2 separate regions of the Homo sapiens genome follow, and region 2 is linked to region 1. Evidence: promoter capture Hi-C in 16 types of primary human blood cells and fetal thymus (Javierre and others, 2016). All regions are on one chromosome and are shown on one strand. Each heading gives the region's core, a stretch centred on a gene start or on the middle of the fragment in contact. The rest is flanking DNA. Distances are from core to core; before and after follow the strand shown. Region 1 holds the start of EXD1 (exonuclease 3'-5' domain containing 1). Region 2 holds the start of PPP1R14D (protein phosphatase 1 regulatory inhibitor subunit 14D).

What was found. Contacts are between HindIII fragments. The CHiCAGO score rates a contact against its expected background, and 5 or more counts as called.
Region 2: the fragment with the promoter of PPP1R14D here is called in contact with the fragment with the promoter of EXD1 in region 1 in 6 of 17 cell types (M1 macrophages, endothelial precursors, naive CD8 T cells and 3 more); the score reaches 6.1 in M1 macrophages.

The regions. Positions count from the first base shown.
Region 1 is chr15:41,227,453-41,232,733 of GRCh38, forward strand. It overlaps EXD1 (exonuclease 3'-5' domain containing 1), which reads right to left and starts at 3,305. Exons shown (of 12, transcript NM_001286441.2): 1 at 3,027-3,305. CHP1 (calcineurin like EF-hand protein 1) reads left to right here and starts at 3,816. Exons shown (of 7, transcript NM_007236.5): 1 at 3,816-3,997. The coding sequence starts at 3,931. RefSeq lists a silencer at 3,330-3,389 and enhancers at 3,510-3,579, 3,600-3,659. The HindIII fragment of the contact is 6,181 bases long and covers 1,477-5,281 here.
Region 2 is chr15:40,825,456-40,830,736 of GRCh38, forward strand. It overlaps PPP1R14D (protein phosphatase 1 regulatory inhibitor subunit 14D), which reads right to left and starts at 3,253. Exons shown (of 4, transcript NM_017726.8): 1 at 2,932-3,253. The coding sequence starts at 3,186. RefSeq lists enhancers at 1-259, 260-760, 756-1,050 and a silencer at 756-1,050. The HindIII fragment of the contact is 4,675 bases long and covers 2,818-5,281 here.

The sequences.
Region 1 (5,281 bases), core at 2,055-4,554:
TGAGGTCGGGAGTTCCAGACCAGCCTGACCAACATGGAGAAACCCTGTCTTTACTAAAAATACAAAATTAGCCGGGTGTGGTGGCGTATGCCTGTAATCCCAGCTATTCAGGAAGGCTGAGGCAGGAGAATCACTTGAACCCGGGAGGCAGAGGTTGCAGTGAGCCGAGATTTAGAGATCGCGCCACTGTACTCCAGCCTGTGCGACAGAGCAACACTGTCTCAAAAAAAAAAAAAAAAAGAATTACAACCATATAGAAATGTACAAAGTAAAGAAAAAATGTACTAAGAAATATTATTCATAGTGGGTACTCACCACTGGGTGCAGTGGCTTATGCCAGTAATCCTAGCACTTTAGGAGGCCAAGACAGGCAGATCACCTGAGGTCAGGAGTTCGAGACCAGCCTGACCAACATGGTGAAACCCCGTCTCTACTAAAAACACAAAAATTAGCCAGCTGTAGTGACGCACACCTGTAATCCTAGCTACTCAGGAGGCTGAGGCAGGAGAATCACTTGAACCCAGGAGGTGGAGGTTGCAGTGAGCCAAGATCGCGCCATTGCACTCCAGCCTGGGAGACAAGAGTGAAACTCTGTCTCAAAAAACAAAACAAAACAAAAGAAGGCGGTACTCTTACATTCTTTACCATAATACAGTAATTTTTTAAAAGTTAATTTAGAACTATTCTGTTATTTAGATGTCCTTGTATTTAGAAACTTAGATAAGTATTCTTCTATAGTTTTTTAAATTTAAAAGCTGTATACTTTTGCCACACTAGGAAAATTCAACCAGTGAATTTTGCAATTTAACCATAAAAACATTGATGAAATAACTAGAGCCTAAGTCAACTAGGAAGAAGGTGAGATGTTACATACAATTTTCGGTCAAATAAATAACCTATATTTTTACATTTTAAGGTCTATCAAGTGCTTATACAAATATTACTTGATATAACAACCATAACCTAATTTACAAATGAAGAAACTGAAGTTTAGAAGGTTAAGACACCTGCCCAAAGTCACACAGCTAGAAGGTAATGCAATCTGAACTAAGACCAGGCCTCTAGGGTAGGATGTTTGTAGTTTAGTGCAAGACCAAGTCTTATGCATCCAAACAGAACATAAAACAAGTCATCAGAGAGTCTAAGAAAAACCATTCTTTAAGTTAATCCAACAGGCAAAAGGAGAATTTTTAAAGAAAAATACATAAAACTGGAAAAAGAAAACAGCCCTTAATAGAGGCAAACATTATTTTTATTTTATTTTTGAGATGGAGTCTCACTCTGTCGCCAGGCTGGAGTGCAGTACCGCTATCTTGGCTCACTGCAACCTCTGCCTCCCGGGTTCAAGCAATTTATACTTTTAAAAGGTACCCAAGAAAGGAAAGTTTGTGAAACACCTGGAAAATAAGAGAATTAGAGAAACATTAAAGAAAAAAAAATTAAAGTCAGAAAAAAATACTAACATGAAGCAAAGAAAGCTTTGACTGGAGACAGCTGCAAACACTAAGATTCAAGATTAGGAAGGAAAAAAGTAAGGTCAGCATCAAGAGATGGGCTTCAAGGCTGACTGAGAAAAGGGACATTCATGGGGCTGACAAAATTTTCCTATCACAGCCATATTCCAACATACAAAGCAGCTCCAGTGATTTAGCTCTTAGACGGGCATATCCAAAATGTTACTGAGTACAAAGGACAACATCACTAGGTTAGACAAGTGCACGACAATCATAAAAATAACTCTAAGGCCGGGCACGGGGACTCACGCCTGTAATCCCAACACTTTGGGAGGCCGAGGCGGGTGGATCACCTGAGTTCTGGAGTTTGAGACCCGCCTAGACAATATGGTGAAACCCTGTCTCTACTAAAAATACAAAAATTAGCTGGGCGTGGTGGCACGCGCCTGTAATCCCAGCTACTCAGGAGGCTGAGGCATGATAATCCCTTGAACCCGCCTGGAGGTTGCAGTGAGCCGAAAATGCACAGTGATCAGGCCATTGCACTCCAGCCCGGACTCTGTCGCAAAAAAACAAAACAAGCCAGGTGCGGTGGCTCACGCCTGTAATCACAGCACTTTGGGAGGCTGAAGCGGGCAGATCACCTGAGATACGGAGTTCGAGACCAGCCTGACCAACATGGAGAAGCCCTGTCTCTACTAAAAATACAAAATTAGCTGGACACGGTGGCGCATGCCTGTAACCCCAGCTACTAGGGAGTCTGAGGCAGGAGAATCGCTTGAACCCGGGAGGCGGAAGTTTCGGTGAGCTGAGATGGCGCCTTTGCACTTCAGCCTGGGCAGAAGAGCAAAAACTCCGTCTCAAACAACAACAACAACAACAAACAAACAAAACTCTAGTTCTTCAAACTAGAACCTCAGCTTGCAGGGAACGTGTGGGGCCTCAGGCTAAGCTGTAAAGCCTTAGGTAACACTTAAAACTAGTAACTTAAGTTGACCTGGGAAAGCCTGCTACGACAAAAATATCCTGGTACTTGGGTACTAACAGCAGTCAGAATTCGGTTCTTCCTTATCTTATACGTGTTCTAACCAAACAGGTGTGAAGGGGTAAGGCAGGTGAAGCAGTAAGAACTGGTTCACCTGAGAGTAGGCACTAATTTAACGGGTGGCTTTTACCTTTTTTTTTTTTTTTTTTTGAGACGGAGTCTTGCTCTGTCACCCAGGCTGGAGAGCAATGCCGCGATCTCGGCTCACTGCAACCTCCGCCTCCCGGGTTCAAGCGATTCTCCTGCCTCAGCCTCCCGAGTAGCTGGGATTACAGGCACGCGGCACCACACCCGGATAATTTTGTATTTTTATTAGAGATGGGGTTTCTCCATATTGGTCAGGCTGGTCTCGAACTCACGACCTCAGGTGTTCTGCCCACCTCGGCCTCCCAAAGTGCTGGGATTACAGGCGTGAGCCACCGTGCCAGGCCTACCTTTTTAATCAAAACAAACAATACACCATGAGAATAAAATGCAAAATTTCTCATTTTTAAGACAAAATAAGGAACTTCAAATAAATGGCGGACCATAAGCTAGGAATTCACTGTCCTCCATCGTTAGGGCTTTTTCCTCCGAAGGAAGTTTGGGAAATCTGGATCCTAATTTCAGCCAAGTGGTGCGTTCCTCGAACTTCAGTCTAGAACTAAAAGAAGAGGGGCTGCAATGAAGGAAGAAGTCTCGGGACGCTCCACGCCACCCGGCGGCGGTTATCAAATCACAGGCTGAAAACCTGGAGAAAGGTCCGCGACGCCGGGGACACACGCCGCAGAGGCGACGCCCGCCCGGCCCAACGTCCAGTCTCGTCTGTTTCCCGAGGAGCCAATCAGCACGCGGCCCCGAGGCCGGCTCCCCAGCGCCCCCTGCGGCCGGGAGGAGGACGGCAGCCAGGAAAGATGAAGAGCGCGTGCAGTCCCCGAAGGGTACACCCTAGGGTTCCCCCCCACGCGAAGTTTCTCTCCGCAATCCGTGCCACCTATCGAGTAGGATTCCTAGTGTTCGATTCCTGTGAGAAAAGGTAGACTACGCTGCCTGTCGCAGGTTAGTTTGTTGTAAAACTGTTGGTCAATGACGTTGCCCTTTTAATTGCGTCGTTAGCGACCGAGTGGCATCGCCCCTTTAAGGCCGGTGGCAGCTGCGGTTCCGGGGGCGGGGTCCGTCTTCAGCAGGACTTGGGCTGGAGCTGGGCTGATTCATTCGGGGCTGGAACTCGAACGCTGACGTTGGCTCCTGAGCCGGGCGCTGCCTCGCGCCTGATTGGCGGGTCCTCGGGGCCGCCCTCCCCAGCGCACCACCCCTGGGTTCCCTCCCGGGTCCGCAGTGGAAACACTGCCCTCTCCCTTCTTGACCCCTAGCCCTTCCTTCCCTCCCTCCTTCCCTCCTGTCGCCGTCTCTTCTGGCGCCGCTGCTCCCGGAGGAGCTCCCGGCACGGCGATGGGTTCTCGGGCCTCCACGTTACTGCGGGACGAAGAGCTCGAGGAGATCAAGAAGGAGACCGGCTGTGAGTTCGGGTTGGGGGTGGGAACGCCGGGCGCCTCAGGCTGGCCTCACAACCAAGGGCGGCTGTCGCTAAGGTCTGGAGCTCGGGTGCCTGTGAGGTTGGGGGGTCCTGGGCAGCCTCCAGGTTTGGGGACCGAGAGCTGGAAGACCTGTTCTTCCAGCTGCAGCTTCCTGGAGCGGGGCTCTAGCTACTGTGGGGCTGTCCTTCCCTTCAAAATCGGGACTCTTGATCACTCGTAGAGCGTCGACGCCCCCCTTTTCTGCACCCTGCCCATCAAAGTCCCCGAACTCCTTTCCTTTCTGTTGCCTCGCACCACCCTTCCCTATGAAGAGGCATCCTGAACAGTAGGTAAAGCCCGAGAAGCAAATTCAGGAACTCGAGATGGATTCTGTAGAAAATCCGTTTCTGGGTAAGGACCTAAAACCTCTGACAACTATGGGAAATTACAAACAAGTTCTTGTCACAAATTGGGAAAACCACCCAGAAAGCAAGACCGTGTAGTAAGGCTTTGGGAGACATGACCCGATGCCTGGAGACCTTTAAACAATCAGGGGTCTGGGATTGTGAGACTTCTTTCAATCTGAACTTCTAGAGAAAAAACACGGATACTGTGACCACCAGTTTTTTACTTACACGACGATACTTGCTGTCCTAATCTCATATATGTATTGATTTCTACTATGCTGGTGTACTTTTTTATTCGCTATTGAAATTGGATGTGCTCCAAAAATCTCCGTGTGAATTTGTACTAGGAACTGATTTTTTTTTTTTTTTTTTTTGAAACGGAGTCTCCCTCTGTCAACCAGGCTGGAGTGCAGTGGCGTGATCTCGGCACACTGCAACTTCCGCCTCCCAGGTTCAAGCAGTTCTCCTGCCTCAGCCTCCCAGGTAGCTGGGAGTACAGGTGCCTGCCACCACGCTTGGCTAATTTTTGTATTTTTGGTAGAGATGGGGTTTCACTATGTTGGCCCGGCTGGCCTCGAACTCCTGACCTCAAGTGATCCACCCACCTCGGCCTCCCAAAGTGCTGGGATTACAGGTGTGAGCCACCGTGCCCTGCAGAACTGATTTTTTTTTTTATAGTCCAGTCTCTTCCTCATTAGTCTGAACAAAGGAGCAAAAGGACTCGGGATTCTGAAGCGCTGTAAAATACCATCATAACTTTGAATAGTCCTTGATAATGCAATGTATGATACAATTGTATTGATGCATACAATATTTTATCTTTTCAGTAAACCTTTATGATTCTTATTGAGTTAATGAAGGATGTAGCACCTGAGCTCT
Region 2 (5,281 bases), core at 2,003-4,502, 400 kb before region 1:
TGCGTCCCCAGACTTGGTTCCTCTGAAGACCCCACACCAGGCTGCACATCCAGGGAGAAGAGGTAGGTCCCTCCAACAAACGAAGGTTGGTCCCAAGATATTAAACAAGTAGAGTGTTGTATCCTTAGATGCTTTCCCACTGCTGCTGTCTAAGGTGGGTATCTGGGGTAGAGCCCTGGTGGGTGGGCAGGGGCTCTCCGTAAACTGGAATGGAGCAGAGTAAGGCTGGAGACTGTGCTGTCTTGACCTCTGCCCAAGATGACCAACAACCTGGGGCTTCCCCAGCCACTTAACTGCTTCCTGCTGAAAAGAGCAGGGATTGGGAGAGAAACTGCCACCTGGCACCTTTGGACAATTACCATGGCAATCACAGGCCAGGCATTTTATTCCAGTCATTGCCTGGGAACGCTCCTTCCACATGTCTTGCTTTCTGTGTTACAGGCTTATTACTGTACAGCCTCCAGCCCTCCACTTTCATCTTGCAAAACAAGGTTCTTTCTTTGATGTCTGGAAGGATTTGCCCCGGAATGTCAGAAATTTGAGACTGTATGCAAGTGCACAATAAACAATCTGAAATTGAAACTGATCCAGTGGAGAGTGCTGGAATTAGGGAAGAGCAGTGGATATGTCCTGCGAGGTCAGAGCAGATACAGGCCAAGATAGTTTGCCTCCCAGCTCCAAGGGGTCTCCCTACCCTCAGTGAGTGGGCTTGGGAGGTAGATGCTTGGGATGCTGCATCTTTGGTCAATACCTTGACCAAACTGACACATGACCCAGTTAGTTTCGAGATAGACTGGGTCACAACAATCATTCTTCACCACCTGCAACCCTAGGACTGCTGATAACCCTTACCCACAGGAATTATAGGGCCCTGCTGCTCCAAAAAGATAGGATCTGAGTCAACAAGAAAGAGAAACAAGGACAACATATTTTGAACTCCTGACTAGCTTGGCGTATGGTTCTCAGCCCAGCCACACATTAGAACCAACTGTGGGGCTTTTAAAAAATGCCCAGTATCTGGACTCCACTGTAGTAGATTTAAATTCAGTTGAGGAGGAGCCAGGGCATCTGTTTTTTTTCTTAAGTATTTCAAGTGTGGAGAACCATTGGCTGCTCAAATAAGTGGCCAGGCTCCACACCTGGTCCCAAGGTTTCCTAGTTGTGTGACCTTGGGCAAGTTACTCAACATCTGTAAACCTCCATTCCCTCAGCTGTAAAGCAGTACCTGCTGGCCAGGCATGGTGGCTCACACCTGTAATCCCAGCATTTTGAGAAGCCAAGATTGGAGGATCGTTCGAGCCCAGGAGTTCAAGACCAACCTAGGCAACATAGCAAGATCTCATCTCTATAAAAAAAGAAAAACAGTACTTGCTTAATGGAGTTGTGGGAAGGATTAAATGAAAGAATGCATGTCAGTGCCTGGCATTGAGCCTAGCACGTAGTTGTGTTCAGAATGTTATTCTTATTGCTGGAACAGCAGTTCTTACCTCTCTAGAATCCAGGTTTAAAGGTATATAAGTAAGAAAGTGCCGTTTCCAGTAACCAGGGACCAAGACCTGTCCTTTTCCCAGAGTGGGGTTGAAGAGTGTTAGTCAGAGCCAGGGTCAAAGATTGCTTAGGTCCTGGTATTGGCACTCAACTTTGGTTACTCTTAACATTCTAGTCCCGCACTGTCCATTCTGAAATAACGAAAATATTCTATATTTGTGCTGACAACATAGTAGTCACTAGCCACATGGGGCTATTTAACACTTGAGATGTGGCCCATGTTGGCTGGGTGCGGTGGCTCACGCCTGTAATCCCAGCACTTTGGGAGGCTGAGGTGGGCAGATCACCTGAGGTCGAGAGTTCGAGACCAGCCTGACCAACATGGAGAAACCCCGTCTCTACTAAAAATACAAAATTAGTCGGGCACAGTGGCGCATGCCTGTAATCCCAGCTACTCGGGAGGCTGAGGCAGGAGAATCGCTTGAACTTGGGAGGCGGAGGTTGCAGTGAGCCAAAATCACGGCATTGCACTCCAGGCTGGTTTACAGAGTAAGACTGTCTCAAAAAAAGGCAAAAGAAAAAAGAAATGTGGCCCATGTGACTGGGGAACTGAATAATTTTATTTAATTATAACTCATTTAAAGTCAAACAGCTACACATGGCTGATGGCTACAGAATTGGAAAATGTAGCTCTAGGCTGGGCATGGTGGTGCACACCTGTAATCCCAGCACTTTGAGAGGCCGAGGCAGGCAGACTGTTTGAGCCAAGGAGTTCAAGACCAGCCTGGGCAACATGGTGAAAAGCCGTCTCTACAAAAAAAAATACAAAAAAATTTGCCAGGCGTGGTGGTGCGCACCTGTAGTCCCAGCTACTCAGGAGGCTGAAGTGGGAGGATGGCTTGAACCCAGCAGGCAGAGCAGTGAGCTGAGATTGCACTACTGCATTCCAGCCTGTGCAACAGGGCAAGACTTTGTCTCAAAAACAAACAAACAAACAAAAAACAAAAGAAAGAAAGAAAGAAAGAAACAAAGAAAAAGAAAAGAAACGAAAATGTAGCTCCGGACATGTATGTGCATTGAACATGGGAGTAAATAAAGATATAAAATTTTGAAACATAGTGTGACCAAGCATTTTCCCTTCTATTGTCTCATTTGAGCCTCAGAAAGTCCTATAAAGGAGATATGACAGGCACTAACAGCCCTATTATAGATTAGGGATGTTAAAAGACCTTCCCCAGATCACAAAGAGCATTAGAGGCACAGACAAGCCTAGAGGGAGGCAGACTTCTGGACTTCAAACCGATGCTTCTTTCTTTCATCAGTTACAAAAGCTTTCTCTTCACGGAAGCACCTCACATCAGCCCTCCAGCTCCTGTGAAGGTCTCAGTGCCCTGGGTGGACCCCAGGCCCCCATCTCCTCCCACTATCCGCTGTGCTACCTACCTGGAAGAGCTCCTGAACTTGAGCATCCACCCATTGCTCCATCTCCAGCCAGCGCTGGAGCTGGCCCCGGTCATACTTCACTGTCAGGCGGCTGGGTCTCCGGGACCTGGGTATCTTGGAGGAGTCCGGGTGGGACTTGGACTCTGAGTCTGTGGATGATGTCCTTCTCCTCCCAGAAGCCCAGTGGACCTTCTTACATGGGTTCTCCCCATCTGGGCTGGGAGATGTGCAGGAAGCAGGGCTTGAAGACAGCATGGAAGTATTGGTCTGGGCAAGGAGCTGGGAAAAACCGCCAGTTCTGAGCAGAGCCACAGAGGGAAGTGAGGAGACAGAGAACAGGAGAGGCCAGCAGAGAAGAAATGAAGGCAGGAGGAGGGCCAAGGCTCCCAGGGAGGGGCAAGGGCAAAGATCAATAGGACTTTGGTGCTGGGAATGCCAGTCTCCTGGCTCCTCACTGCCAGCCAGTGAGTGGCACTCCAGAGCCATGCCCCAGCCTCCCTTTCTGCAGCTTCTAGGGCCCAAAGTGGCATAAACTGCAGATGAGCAAAGGTCAAGAGGCTGCCATGCCCAGGGAGGAGGAAGGGGCCCTGGGGTCCTGAAGGGTACAGGGCTCCAATCGCTGCTCTATGGCCAGCTCTGGAATGGGACCTGAGTCGTTCTCACCTGAGATCCCTCTGTATCCCACCTTCCTGGGGCTGGATCCACTCTGGGCTCTGAGAAGCTGTGGTCAGATTCCGCAGAAGCAGGGTCCCTGGCTGGCAGGGATTCTTACTCAGAGCGTAGCACTACTGGGGGCAGAGCCCCAGCTGGTAGATAGAGTTGGAGGTCAGTTATTGATGGCTCCCGTAGGACCAGTGCCCCCAGTGTCTGGGTGTGTCCGAATGTAAACTGCTATCAGCCTGGCCTATAAAGGCAGTTTACCTGCTTGTAAAGGCAAATTTATCAAGACTTGTCTACTATGCCCGCTCCCCTGAGGCAACTGCTTAGGAAGCCATGTTTATTACCACGTGACCCTCCCCCGATTCATGTATTTGCTGACACAGAGGAAACCTGCAAACCTAACTTATACACAGGTGTCAGGGACTAATACTTCCAGGCATACATACTTGCATTCTAAGGCAGGGTATTTTTGTTTAGTCTTTTATAATGAAAATTTCTAAACTTTAAAAAAAAAAAGTGACAGAAGAACACTGTAATTTTTTTTTTTTTTTTTTTGAGATGGAGTCTCGCACTGTCACCCAGGCTGGGGGGCAATGCTGCGATCTTGGCTCACTGCAACATCCGCCTCCCAAGTTCAAGCAATTCTCCTGCCTCAGCCTCCCAAGAAGCTGGGATTACAGGCGCCCACCACCATGCCCGGATAATTTTTTGTATTTTTAGTAGAGACGAGGTTTCACTATGTTGCCCAGGCTGGTCTCAAATGCCTGACCTCATGATCCACCCGCCTCGGCCTCCCAAAGTGGTGGGATTACTGGAGTGAGCCACCGTGCCCAGCCTGTAATTTTTTTAAAATGGGGCCAGGCATGGTGGCTCACGCCTGTAATCCCAGCACTCTGGGAGGCCGAGGCGCGTGGATTGCTTGAGCTCAGGAGTTCAAGACCAGCCTGGGCAAAATGGTGAAATTCTCTCTCTACCAAAAAAAAAAATAATAATAATACAAAAAATTAGCTGCTTTGGGAGACCCAGGCGGGAAGATTGCTTGAGGCCAGTAGTTCAAGACCAGTCCGGGCAACACAGTGAGATCTTGTCTCCATTAAAAAATGTAAACAATGGGCCAGGCACGGTGGCTCATGCCTGTAATCCCAGCACTTTGGGAGGCTGAGGTGGACAGATGACTTGAGGTCAGGAGTTTGAGATCAGCCTGGCCAACATGGCAAAACCCTGTCTCTACTAAAAATACAAAAATTAGCCGGGCGTGGTGGCACACGTCTGTAGCCCCAACTATTCAGGAGGCTGAGGGAGGAGAATCGCCTGGGCCCAGGAGGCGGAGGTTGCAGTGAGCCGAGATCATGCCACTGCACTCCAGCCTGGGTGACAGAGCAAGACCCCGTCTCAAAAAAAAAAAAAAAAAAAAAGTAAAAAATGAAAAGCAAGATTACTCAGATATGGTGGTGCACACCTGTCATCCTAGCTGCTTGGAAGGTGGGAAAATCACTTCAGCCCAGGAGTTCAAGGCTACAGTGAGCTACAATGGCAACACTGCACTTAAGCATGGGTGACAGAGCAAGACCCTGTCTCAAAAAAGGAAAAAGGCGAATGGATGACAGTTTAATGATGAAATTTTAGGCCCTCACTTAAGAAGATAAGGGAGGTGTTTGAGTGGCTGGAAACTAAGATGGCAGCCAGGAAA